3 separate regions of the Homo sapiens genome follow, and regions 2 and 3 are each linked to region 1. The links are contacts of gene promoters, found by promoter capture Hi-C in blood cells and fetal thymus (Javierre and others, 2016). All regions are on one chromosome and are shown on one strand. The core of a region is centred on a gene start or on the middle of the fragment in contact, and the rest is flanking DNA. Distances in the headings are between cores, read along the strand shown.

Region 1 (4,052 bases), core at 1,003-3,502:
AAGATGTTGTTTCACAAATTCAGATTCCTCAGGCACAAGGCAACCAAGAGAATGGAAAAGGCTCAGTACCTTCTATTACTAACACGGGAGAAAAATACGCATTCGAATTCCCAACTGTCAGTGCTGTTAGATGTTTCCTGGTAGTATATGGTTAACATATAAAATAATATTCTTTAAAAAGATCGATATTGTGAAAACAAAAGATTTAATATCCTTTTCTTCTTTTGACTCAAAATATCGTTTTGGATCCTTTAAAAAAAAAAGTCTGTTCCTTTCCTCTGACAAGTTAGGTTGGTGGAGACTGAAACAAAACACTTTGTAAGTTGACATCTCCTTTTAAAAGAAGTTATTTCTTTTTTCTTCTCTTGTCTAAAAGACCAGCTATTTGGAGAGAGTTTTCCTGATAATTATAATTCTACCAAGTTCTGAACAACCAGCGAAGAAAAAAAATATTTAAATGTATTTCCAGTCTGCCCACATGATACACTGGCTCATTTGAGACATAAATTCTAAATGAAAGATTGGGCTGAACAACATCCTCCACTTTAAGATATACAAGGCACCAAAACAAACACATCCAAAATCTATTTTTAGAGTGGTGTTCACTCTTCCGGTTTTCTCTTTAAAACGAGATTTAGTTGACCTATTTTCATGTGTTTTTAGGGCACCCAGACACTCTATACAAACAATATTTGCTAATCATAAAACAGCAAAGCCAAAATCACAAATCCTGTTATCTGTGTGGGACATTTTCTCCACGTGTCCTTACGTGCCATGTCTTTGAAAAGTCTAAATATAGATTCACTGACTAAAATGTCCTAAGTCTTCCAAATTCTATAATTATATACTGGATTGAATGCCAATATTATACGTTCACATCCCATTTGAAAAGTACACACACGAGGTGGGGGGGATGTGCCCACTACCTGAAATGCCAATCATACAAAGAACAAAGCGTACCCTATCATCTTTGGGCTTTCTTCTCTCCTCAGTTCTACACTGTTTCGATATTACAAAAATATTAAACAAAATGTTCAAAACTTGAGAAATAAGTGCTCACTAAAATGGCACTTAGAGAAAATAAATTAAAACATATACCAATATGATTAACGAGAAAAGATTCTAGTTGCCAGGATGTGTGTGTAAACTTACAGTCCTGTAGGTTTTACCTGTGGAGAGGACGGTTCCGTCTCCACTCTTAAAACAATTTTACATTCTTTAGAAGCCTTAGCAAAATAAATAGCGACAACAATGGAAGACCCACACTCCTTCAGACGGGATGGAGGGTAGGAAGAGAACTCCCCACCCAACAATCAGAACAAAGCAACAGCCTCAGCTTTTAAGATGCAGAGGGTTTGGAGGCTCAAGGGATATTCTGAGATCTCTTAATTGTTCCGATGCTTCAACAGCCGTCAAAAACAACTAAGAATATGCAGCGCTGGGCTTCACTAGGACAAGGTGCAGGGATTGCTCTCTTCGTTTTAGGCAAGACCGAGACACTGAGCAGGAGAAAAAAAAGGAGGAAGAGCGAGAGAAGAGAAAGCAGCAGCCAGAGACACTCCGGGAAAAGGCAAAAATGCAGACTGTACGCCCTGGCTTCGATCTGACCCAAGGCCCAAACTGTCTGACCCCACACGGGAAAACATGGAGCAGGCTACCGCCGAAAAACCATCGCCGCCCCTACACCTCGAGGCCAGAAGGTCCCCGGGTAAAGGCCTAAAACCACGGCCCAGAGGGGAGGAGAGGGACCCGCCTGCCACCCGAGGCAGCGAAGCGGGCTCAGGCGGAAGAGGCTGCGCAGTAATGGCCGCTGCTCCGCCCCTCGCACCCGGACCGAGACCAGCTCCGGCCGTCACCCAGGGCAGGGGCTGCGGCGCCCTCGGGCAGCGCAGGGGCTGTCACGGTCGTCTTGCCTGCCCCAGCAGCCAAGGCGGGGGTGGCGGAAAGGGCTGAACTGTCCCATCCCGCCTCTGCGCGGACAGCCGGGGCCGCGCCAGCCCAAGGGCGTCCATCTACGTACCGGCCCCTGACCCCGCCGCCGCCCCTCTCAGGCCCCGAGCGCAAGGCCGACCCGGAGTACGTTGCGGCTGGAGGTGACACCGCGAGCTATGCCTCCTCTCCCCGAGTGAGGATCCTAGAGTGGCCGGCGTTCACCCTGCTCCCCCGAGAGGGCCTCGCTCCGACTCCCACCTCTCCGGCCACAGCTGCGGCCACCTCGCAGTCTTTTCTCTCTGGCCTCGGAGCCCGCAGCTGCCGGGAACGCGCGCGGCCGTCACGTGACCACCCGGCGCGTCGCGGAGGAGGGGCCGCGACGCGCCGCGCACCCGCACCCGCACCGGCGAGCTAACTCCGGCGCCTCATCGTTCTGCCCCTGTCTCGCGCCGCTGTCTGCCGGTACTCTCTTGCCTGTGGGGAGCGGCGACTTCGCTGCTTGCATTCTTCTGGCTTCTTTAGAGTGTGCTTGCTTTGTATTAGGGCCCAGAGGCTCTGAAAGAGTGCAGTTCCAACAGAAAGAGATTTGGGGTGGAGGAAGTAAAACGTGTGTAGGACCAGCAGGTGGTGCTGCTCAAAAATCCAGCTTTGCTATCCTGAGGAAGCTCTGGGGCGCCTAGCTGAGTTTCGGCTTAAAGATCCCTTAGCAAAAGTACTGCTTGTTCCCTTTCAAGAAAAAAAATGGGGAGGGGGGGGACGGAGGGGAGAGAGTACTGTAGGACTTTCCAATTTGTTCTCCTTTTTAATGGTTGAGCAATTTAATCGGGGAAAAAATGAGTATTAGTTTTCTTTTGAAACCCCACCCTTTTTTTAAAAAAAACAGAATAGTGCCTGAGAAACTGAAGAAATTAATCTGCATGATAATCTAAAATTAAAGAGGTTATTTTGATCGCAAGCCTGTGGTTTTAAACATCAGAACTCTAGCAGTAATTCACCATTTTAGCATGTACATTTCCTTTTTCAGAACTGATTAAATTTTCCTAATTTGTAGGAAAATGAAGAGGGTGGAAGAGCAGACCTTTTATCTTTAGAAGAGTATGTATTTCAACATTCTATGACAGCGTCTTCTCATTTGCATTAGTGTTGCATTTTGGGATTTCATTAACTGTTTGATTCAGGATTGGAAGTTTTCAGTGTCCTTATAGGTATAGAAATGTATATGTTTTCTGTTATTCCTCTGAAATCAGTTTATTTCAGGGTTCTCATTCATATATATCAATATGTAACCCAATCTCTTGAAGGGTGCATCTAGTTCAGTGATGCTTGCGCGTGTATGCAATACTGTTCCATACATGTAGAAATATTGAAGTGTATATCCTTTAACTTTAAGCTTAGTTTTCTATCTTTATCTTCTTATTAGCCACTCAGTTTTGTCCCTCTATCCTACACAGCCCATGAACAGAGAATAGCTAAAATTTGATATGTACTCGAAGATTCCAGCTTGAAGAGGTAATGCTAATATTAACTAACAATGTGCCAGGTGTTGCTCTAAGTGCTTTATTCATATATACCCACTTAATTCTCATAATAAACTATGAGGTAGGCACTATTATTATTCCCATTTTACAGAGAGAGAGACACACACAGCTGAGATTTGAATCCAGGCACAGACTGTAAGATGTCAGCTAGTTCAACCCCTTCTCACTCATACCCAAGGTCTTTGTATTTCAGTAAATGGTTGCATCTTTCCTTGTTCAAACCCACCTTTAACTCCTCTCTTTTATGTCTTATATGCATTTGGCATATAACCTGTTGGCTCTTCCTTCAAAGTATATCCAACTACTTACCACCTCCGCTACAATCTGCATCATCTCTTGTTTGGATTATAGTGTTACGGTAGACCAGGAACTAGTCTTTTGACTCTATCCTTAATACAGAATCCTAAATAAATCTACTTAAAAAGAAGTGAGATCGTACCACTCCTTTGCTCAAAGTCTCCTGTGGCTTCCCAACACAAGTAAAAACCAAAGTCCTAACGATGGCTTTAAAATCCTCCCCTCATTACCTCTTTGACCCCACAGACTGTTTACCCAGCTTTGTATTCCCAGAAAGCTCTCCAC
Region 2 (4,052 bases), core at 1,007-3,506, 2.8 Mb before region 1:
AGTCTCATACTCTCCTTCCTGATCTCCAAATGCAGCTTTTTAACATTTGCAGGTATGTCAAGCAATTTATTTCAACAAGTGGGTCTTACCTTTCGGCGGTGATGAAACACAGAACTCTCTGGCGATCTTCACAATTGCTGTCCACTCTCAAGATTTCTCCTAAGGGTTCTAGCATTGGTTTAAAGAGAGGGAAGGTAAAATCAAAACACTGTCATCAAAAAGAAACCTTCAAATCCACCATCCCCAGTTAAGAAGCTTACATTCTGAATCACTTAGGCATAATTTTACACCATGCCACTCGGTAAATTAAAATAAAATAAGCTGGTTCTAGATGAGTTGAAATGGATTTTAATCATTCGTATCATTCCCATGTCCTAAATTCACCCAATAACGTCTCTCCTGTTGTATATGACAGGCAGGTGAAAGTTACAAGGATCATTTGAGTCAACTTTAATTTCCCTCACTGCTTTTATCTTTAAAATTAAAGATATTTTACAGAAAACACACTGGAAAAAGAATAGATATTACATAAAATTTTTGCCCATGTATTTAAGGACTTTAAATCACAAATTATACAAGTATTCAGAAATAATTTCGTACTCAGTGAAACAAAATTACAGTCTTAGAACCAAAAGGGACTACTTACTCGGACTATACATAACTATACAGCTAAGAAACTATATAAAATTGCCTTACACTTATCAGACAGTAAAATGAACAGCTCATATAAAAGACAAATCTCAACTAAAGGTCTTTTCCATTTCTTCAAAGTTTTAAACACATTTCAACTTAGCAGTTTTCTTAACATTCAAAATAAAGTCATCAGCTGAGACTCGTTAATTAAAAATTGATCAGAGGTACAGACACCGATAAATGCAAAAGCAAACAATTGTTTCCAATTCAGGGAGCGATCAATCTCAAATCTCTGAATAAAAGCAAAGTGTCTTTCCCATATAACTCATGTCGGATGGAAGTTACAGGGTCTGAGTCCTCAGAATTCATTGCTTCGATTTACTAAACTTTCAATTTCTGATCAGCATCCTTTCACACAACATCTGGCTGCTCGCTCAGGTCCTCTAATTACTTCCACGTCTGAACGGACTACGTAGCTACGAGTAAAGGCCAAACTTTGCTCTCGGCCTTCCGAACTTAAAAGACGCGTTCAACCACTAGAGGTCTCCCCTTGGCCAGTTTTGCACGTTCGCTATTTTGCTGCACTTGAAACTTTCCGGAGAAATGCTCTCTACTCGAGTCAGTGTTTTTCTAAAAACTTGCGCAAAAATCCACGCGACCGAGATAGCCAGCATAGAGCCTCTCGGACTCCCTAAACCAATAAAGACATCACAAACAACGCTCTAGGAAAACCAAAAGGAGAACTGGACGCACTCGCCCCGGCCGCGCCCCCCCACCCCAAATTCTTATTTCTCATCTCAGTTTCCCCTAACCTAACAATTAAAAATCTATTTTTGTTTCTGTGCACTCTGAATGATCTCGAATGCATTTTTCTGGCGGTGGCCCCGAGGTGGAGAAGCGGGCCAAGGGATGCGAGGCGTTGGGGGTGGGGGCGGTGAGGGGGAGGGCCGTGCTCACAGCGCCCGAGGAAGTTGCCTAAGGAAAGGGACTCCGTTTTTCGGGTCCCCTCAAAAAATCGGCGGGGAGGGGGAGGAAAAGGAAGCGGGGTGGTGGCAGCAGGGGGACTCAGAAGGGAAACCGAAGCAACGTTTACCTCCGTCTCCCGTGGAAGGGTGGGGTAGAGCCGCGGTCCCCGCGCCCTGGAAAGCGGCTAGTTACCCCCACCTCCCTCTGAGCGCGACGGACAGACCGACGCCCCCAGCCCTCCGCGGGGACCCGGGAGGAACACGCCCGCTTTTAAACTTTCTCTCACGGTCGCGCTGCGGGCTGTGCTTTGACCGGGACTGGGGGAGGGGGGAATCGCAGGGCCTTTTTTTCTTTAAAGGTAATTAAAGTTTTACCACCAGTCCAAAAGTTGCGCCCTCCCCCCGCCCGTGCCACCGTGCCCTCCTCCCCTTCCAGGGCTCTCAAGTTTTTCTCCCCGCCCGGCGGCCCCCACACTCCACCAGCTCGCGGGGCGCGCGGCGGATGCCTCGGCTCCTGCGCTTCCCGATCCCCACCCCCGCCGGCCTCTACTTCCCCCCGCCCCGCCGCCGCGGCGCGAGGACGGCCCGCGGGGCCCAGGACGCGAGTGTGCAAAGCCCATTATTCCGGAACCGCACACACACGCGGCGCGAGGCGGGCGGTGGCCCCGGCGCCGGCCCCGGCCCCGACCCCTCTTTTCCTCCCCAGAATAAGGCAGGCGTAAACAAGTTGCAGGAAAAGCAGCCCCGCGCCGCCCCCACCCTCCCCCCACAAGCCCGCCGCCCCGGCGCGGCCGCCGCCGCCGCGACCGCCGCCGCCGCCTCCCGACACACGCCCGCGCCCGCGCCCGCACCCGGGCCGGCGCGGCGCGGCACGGCGCGGGGCGAACGCCGCGACGGCGCGGGCTCCCGGCCCGGCCCGCGGCCCGCGCCCTCTCCCGCGCGGACGGCCGCCGCGGGCCCGCGCCGCCTCGCTTCCCAAAGCACTTTCCTGCCTCGGGCAGAAATAAACCGGAGGGTTTATTTTTGTGCAACTTTCCCAAAATGGCGGAAATTGGAGCTGATCTATATGAAATTCTCACACACTCGGTTGGGAAGAGGGAGGCGGCGAGGAAGCCACGCAAACTCTCGGCCGCCGAGCCCCGCCGCGGGTCCGTGTGTGTGCGTGCGTGTGAGTGTGCGTGTGCGCGGTGGGAGTCGGGCAGGCCTTTCCGCCGCGCACACACACAGCACACGCCGGGGAGACGCGCCTGCACATTCAACCAGTCCATTCTCCGCAGCCCGAAAGGGGAGAAAGTGGCCCGGCCTCTTTTCCCACTGCCTCGGTCTCCCGTACTTGTACTTCTCGCGCTCGCCCGCCCGCTCGCTCGCTCTCCGGTGCGCGCCCGGCACAAAGGCCACACGGGCGGAGGGGGCCGCAGGGGCGGCGCGCGGGGCTCGCGCCTCCCGCCGCACCGATCCGCGGCCCCGGCCGCCCCCGCGCCCCCCGCCGGCGCCCCCCGCCTCGGCGGCCGCGCTCGCCGCCTGGGCTGCGGCTCCGCGGCGCCCACCCGGACACGCACCCCGGTGGAGCCCGGCGCCGCCGCGCTCCCCCACCCCGCGCCCGGTGTCACGAAAGCGACCAAAGTGACAAGCTCGGGGGGCGCGGGGGAGGGGGCCACACGCATCCCGCCGCCTGCGCGCCAGCCTGAGCCCAACGCGGCCGCCTCGCCCCGGCTCCCTTCCGCACGGCCCCCCACACCCTTCCCCGTGTGCGCGCAAAGAAAAAAATACAAGTCTCTCCTCCCCCCATTTTTTCCTTTCTCTTTTCTCTCTCTTTTGTTCCTCTTTCACACTCGCACTCACTACTTCAGAGTGAGATGCCCAGAGACTCCCCCTCCAGCCGTTTCCGAGTCACTTGCCCACTTTTTTCCCCGGGATTAAGTTTTCTCCTCTTTCCCAGAGGCGCAGAGAAGTGGGGGAGAAACCCCTTCTGTCCCTCCCCTCCCCTGATCTGTTTCACAAGACGAGGGTGCGCTTCCTTCCCTCTATAGGGCTCTTAACTTTCATCCTCACCCAGAAAAATAAATGAATGGCTTTTGCACGGACAAATCTTCAGATTAATTAGAGATTAGATCCGATCAACCGCTTCTTACCCCCAAATTTTCTCTTTTTTTTTTCTCCGTCTCACGAGTAGTCCTGACAAATGGTCCAGGGCTGCGGGCGCAATGCGCATGTGCGCGTAGAGTCAGGGCTGGGGAGAGGGGAAACTGCGCTGGTGCCGGTGCCGCCGCCGCCGCCGCCGCTGCCGGGGAGGCTCGCTCTGGCTTCCCTGTTACTGCTGCTGCGCCTTCGCCGCTGGAAAGCAGCAATAAAGCCGGGTGGCAAATGCAGCTGCCCGCAGATCCTGTTTCAGGTGCATCTTTTCAATAGCCCGGTCACCGCCTCAGAGCTGGTTCAAGAACAGTCCAAACAAAT
Region 3 (4,052 bases), core at 742-3,241, 2.2 Mb before region 1:
CTAGAAACATTTTTATAAGTGGACATTAGGATCCAAGGTCAAAAAAGTTTATTCAACTCATGATGTTTTCTAATTCTTCAACTGAAAACATGTTTATGAGTCTGAGAAACACATGATTTTCAGGTATATGAGGGTGAAGAGGAGGATCATTAACCTTACCTTTGCTAAGCAAAGATCTAACCTGTGGCTGAATTATGAAAGAGCTGAGGAAACATTCTGAAATCCATGTGGCAGATCTCAGGAATGCTTTAGGATGAAATCAACTCCTGGAACTAACCCCCCATGACTGACAGCTTTCCACTTGCTAGCTGTGTGATCTTAGGTATTTTCCTTTGTGAAATATAATACTTCTGGCAATATAAATAAATGTAAATAAAACAATAGGGTGGGAATAAAATGAAATAACAGATATGAAATGCCTGGCAGAGTACTGGACACATAGTAGTTATTCACTAAATGCAGGGATTCCTCAGAGTGTCTATGTGGGTATGCTTTTTCCAGTTTTCAGATAACTTCCGCATACATTATCCCATTTGATTTTTCATAACTCTATGTTGTAGGCAAGATAGATGAAATATCTCTATTTTACAAAGGATGAAAGGATGCTTGGAGTAAATAACCAGTTTTCTTGAATGATGGTTATCTGGCCTCTCATTGAATAACTATTTCTAGTGCAAGGAGCACATTGCTCAACCAATTCCATCGTGGACACTAAGGAAGAGAATGAGATATTCAAGAGTTTTCAAGATCTGCACTCAAGACAACATTGCCCACCCATTACTGGTATGGAATATAACCACAACACATGAGCTGTAAAGAGTGTAGTGACTGTGACCATCTTTGTTGTATTGGTGATAAGAATGTAAATTGGCATAGCCTGTGGAAGAAACAATTCAGGTATGTGTATTGAAAACCTTAGACATATTCATCTTTTGGCCTTATAATTTCCTAACTACTTATCTATTTTAAGAATAACTGGAAATAATGAAAAAGCTTGATGCATAGAGGAGCTCATCAGAGTATAGTTTCTAATAGTGAAAAACTGGAAACACTCTCAATAGCCTACCATGGTCTATTAAAAGTAGAATAAATTGGAAAGGCAGAGTGTTCCAGAGATAAGGAGTCAGACTTTGGAGTCTGACTCGCTAGAATAAAATTCTTACTCTGCCTTTTACTAGTGGTGTGAGTGGGTTGGTTGCTTAAGATAGCTAATTCTTATTAACTCGACTAAAAGTAGAAAGACTATATTTTACAGAGCCGTTATGAGAATTACATATAATATTGAATGAAAATTGTTTAGCCCTGGGCTGGTGAAAGTACTCATTATTATCATTACTACATAGTACTTATGCCATTTATTAAACGTTCAGTATATGTGAGTCATTGAACAAACATTATCTTTTAAAACTCTGATACAAAGTCTTTGATGTCTGTGCTGTTAATATCCTCATTTGACAGATGAGGAAACAGAAATAGTCTATGGCCAAATCACCCTGAAAGCATCCGATCTTTTCTGATCTCAAAAGCTAAGCAGGGTTGGGCCCGGTTAGTACTTGGATGGGAAACTGAGAAATAGATTGGACAGGTAGCTTTCCCAAATTCACACAGATGGTCGGTTACAGTGCTGGGATTTGAATACCAGCAGTCTGACTTGAGCCCATGCTCTAATCAAGGCTATATGACCTCCAATACTATAAAATAGTTGTGTGTCTCTGTGTGTATATATACTTAACATAAAATCATATTAGACATACACATTTATATGATGTTTAGATACAGTTTTTATTTATTTATTTATTTTTATTTTTTGGAGATGGAGTCTCGCTCTGTTGCCCAGGCTGGAGTACAGTGGCGTGATCTCGGCTCACTGCAACCTCCGCCTCCTGGGTTCAAGCGATTCTCCTGCCTCAGCCTACTGAGTAGCTGGGACTACAGGTGCACACCGCCATGCCAGGCTATTTTTTTGTATTTTAGAAGAGACGGGGTTTCACCGTGGTTGCCCAGGCTGGTCTCGAACTCCTGAGCTCAGGCAATCTGCCTGCCTTGGCCTCCCAAAGTGCTAGGATTACAGGCGTGAGCCACCGCGCCTGGCCTAGAAACAGTTTTAGTGGTGTATTACTAGTTTCTAAAAACAGGACACCAAATTGTATACAAGGTAGGACATCTACTATGCAGATAAAAGGGCCTGGAAACCAACATGGTTGCCTCTGTCATGGTATTATAAGTGTCTTTTATTCATGATTCTGGATATTTCTGTGTTTTCCAACATTTCAACTGAAAATGTACTGTTTTGTAAACAAAATTGAAGATGGAAATATAGGTAAGTCATTCAATGAAGATGTAAGAATAGGTTTAGATAGGTTATATTTCTTTCAATTCTAATATCAGAGTGTACTAGATATCCTGAATAATCTTCCTTCTGAAATGACTCAGAATACTGGGTAAAAATTAGAAAGCAATGGGGATAATATAAACACTTACATGTGTCAGAACTGGGGTGGGCGTAGGAAAGGCTGGGGTGGGAACTGGCTCAGGCTGGATAACTATTTCAGCTGGAGCTGCTCCATCTTCATCTTCACGGAGTTTCTGATGGGCACAGCGACCAATGTCAGCATTTTTGAAGGACACAGGCCTTGCAAAGTCCATGGGGCTAATAGAATGTAATAAATAAGATTTTTTTATTTTCGTTTTTTTGCTTCCTTACAATTAAGCCCAATCCCCGCATGCCTTTTTAAGTCCATTAGTGTGCTTTTCTCAGTCTAAGTTGAAGATCCTCATTGTTTCCCTCCTCCCCTGCATAGCTGTAGACAATGTAGATGCATTGGGACCCCTAATAGCAAGAAATAAAAATAAAAAATTAGTAGTAGTAATGAGGAGATCCACTTACACAGAGTTAATAACAAGATTCCATATGCAGCCTTCAAAAGGAGGAATATTTCTGAGTGGGGAAGGTTGAAATTCAGGTGGAGCACCCCCAACGAAAAGCTTTTTAACTTCGATAGGCTGTTCAACTGTCAGGTTTTGCATGTATCTTCTGTTTTCATCCACTTGAACTGTAAAGATGCTGATAAAATATTAAAAATAAACAAGTATAAGTCACATCTGATTCAATACAGTTGGAAATCAAATTCTTTCCTGCCACCCTTCACCCCTCTCAACCATAGCTTTTAAGGGAGCCAAAATTGGATGCTTAGGAATTCTACACTAAGCAAACGCTGTTCTCAGGATCTCGTTCCATGACTCCCTCGTTCACTCTTCCTGAAAGTTTACTGAAACCAGGTCATGGCGCACTGCAACATTAGCCTCTTGTAGAGCTGACAACAGCGCTGTGCAGCCCAACACATGAGCCTGTGAGAACTGAGGCTTCTGCAGTGTGCAGTAATGTCTAACCGTATAAGGGTTGGCAGGTTTAGCAAAGCATGGGGTCTTCCTTGGGTTGTGCTGGCTATTATCTTCTTGCTAGGGAACAAACCATGCTCCTGAGAGCTTAGATTGCAGGAATCAACAGCAAACACTTAAAGCACCTTTTATAAAGAATGTAGCTGATGGCTTTTGAATAGAAGAGGCAGGCAAGGACACCCTGCTAATTGTTCCTTGCAATGATTTTCCTTAGTGGCTGTTTCATTAATTTTCCTAATTTGCTTATGAGAGAGAACTCACACACTGCTAATTGAGAACCTCATGCTACTTATTTACAACAATCCTTGGATCCCTGGGCCAAGAATCAGAAGGAGACAAAGAGTTCTGATGAAAATGACCAAAGGCATTTTCTCTTTTGTTCCGGAAGCAAGTTTTGAGTTTCGGTCTTAACAGTCATCATGGTGCTATTAGTCATAAGCATTAGTCACTAGCCTGGGGATCATGAATGGATTACTGAAAACTTACTTCATATCTGGAGAGAAAACCGGAGTACTTGGATGGAAACCTCAGTCCTAAAGTACCCTCTTACTTGACTTTATAAAGAAGTAAAACCACATGTAGAACTGGAAAAAACAATAAGCCAGGGTAAAGATGCTCTGAATTGGCACTTTACAAGTAAGATAATTCAAAAG

The links. Contacts are between HindIII fragments. The CHiCAGO score rates a contact against its expected background, and 5 or more counts as called.
Region 2: a fragment that was not itself captured here is called in contact with the fragment with the promoter of RNF146 in region 1 in 1 of 17 cell types (fetal thymus); the score reaches 7.5 in fetal thymus.
Region 3: a fragment that was not itself captured here is called in contact with the fragment with the promoter of RNF146 in region 1 in 1 of 17 cell types (total CD8 T cells); the score reaches 5.7 in total CD8 T cells.

Annotation. Positions count from the first base shown.
Region 1 is chr6:127,265,064-127,269,115 of GRCh38, reverse strand. It overlaps RNF146 (ring finger protein 146), which reads right to left and starts at 2,252. Exons shown (of 3, transcript NM_001242850.2): 1 at 2,191-2,252. RefSeq lists an enhancer at 1,564-1,623 and silencers at 1,824-2,093, 2,194-2,293. The HindIII fragment of the contact is 5,432 bases long and covers 1-3,324 here.
Region 2 is chr6:130,018,343-130,022,394 of GRCh38, reverse strand. It overlaps L3MBTL3 (L3MBTL histone methyl-lysine binding protein 3), which reads right to left and starts at 3,814. Exons shown (of 23, transcript NM_032438.4): 1 at 3,731-3,814; 2 at 90-168. RefSeq lists an enhancer at 1,475-1,534 and silencers at 1,895-1,964, 2,015-2,254, 3,205-3,334. The HindIII fragment of the contact is 3,997 bases long and covers 258-4,052 here.
Region 3 is chr6:129,490,913-129,494,964 of GRCh38, reverse strand. It overlaps LAMA2 (laminin subunit alpha 2), which reads right to left. Exons shown (of 65, transcript NM_000426.4): 57 at 2,888-3,064; 58 at 2,482-2,650. LOC102723409 (a long non-coding RNA gene) reads left to right here. Exons shown (of 8, transcript XR_001743860.2): 8 at 673-2,483. Among named protein-coding and RNA genes, the nearest start is that of ARHGAP18, 220 kb to the left of the region's middle. RefSeq lists an enhancer at 3,194-4,052. The HindIII fragment of the contact is 1,992 bases long and covers 996-2,987 here.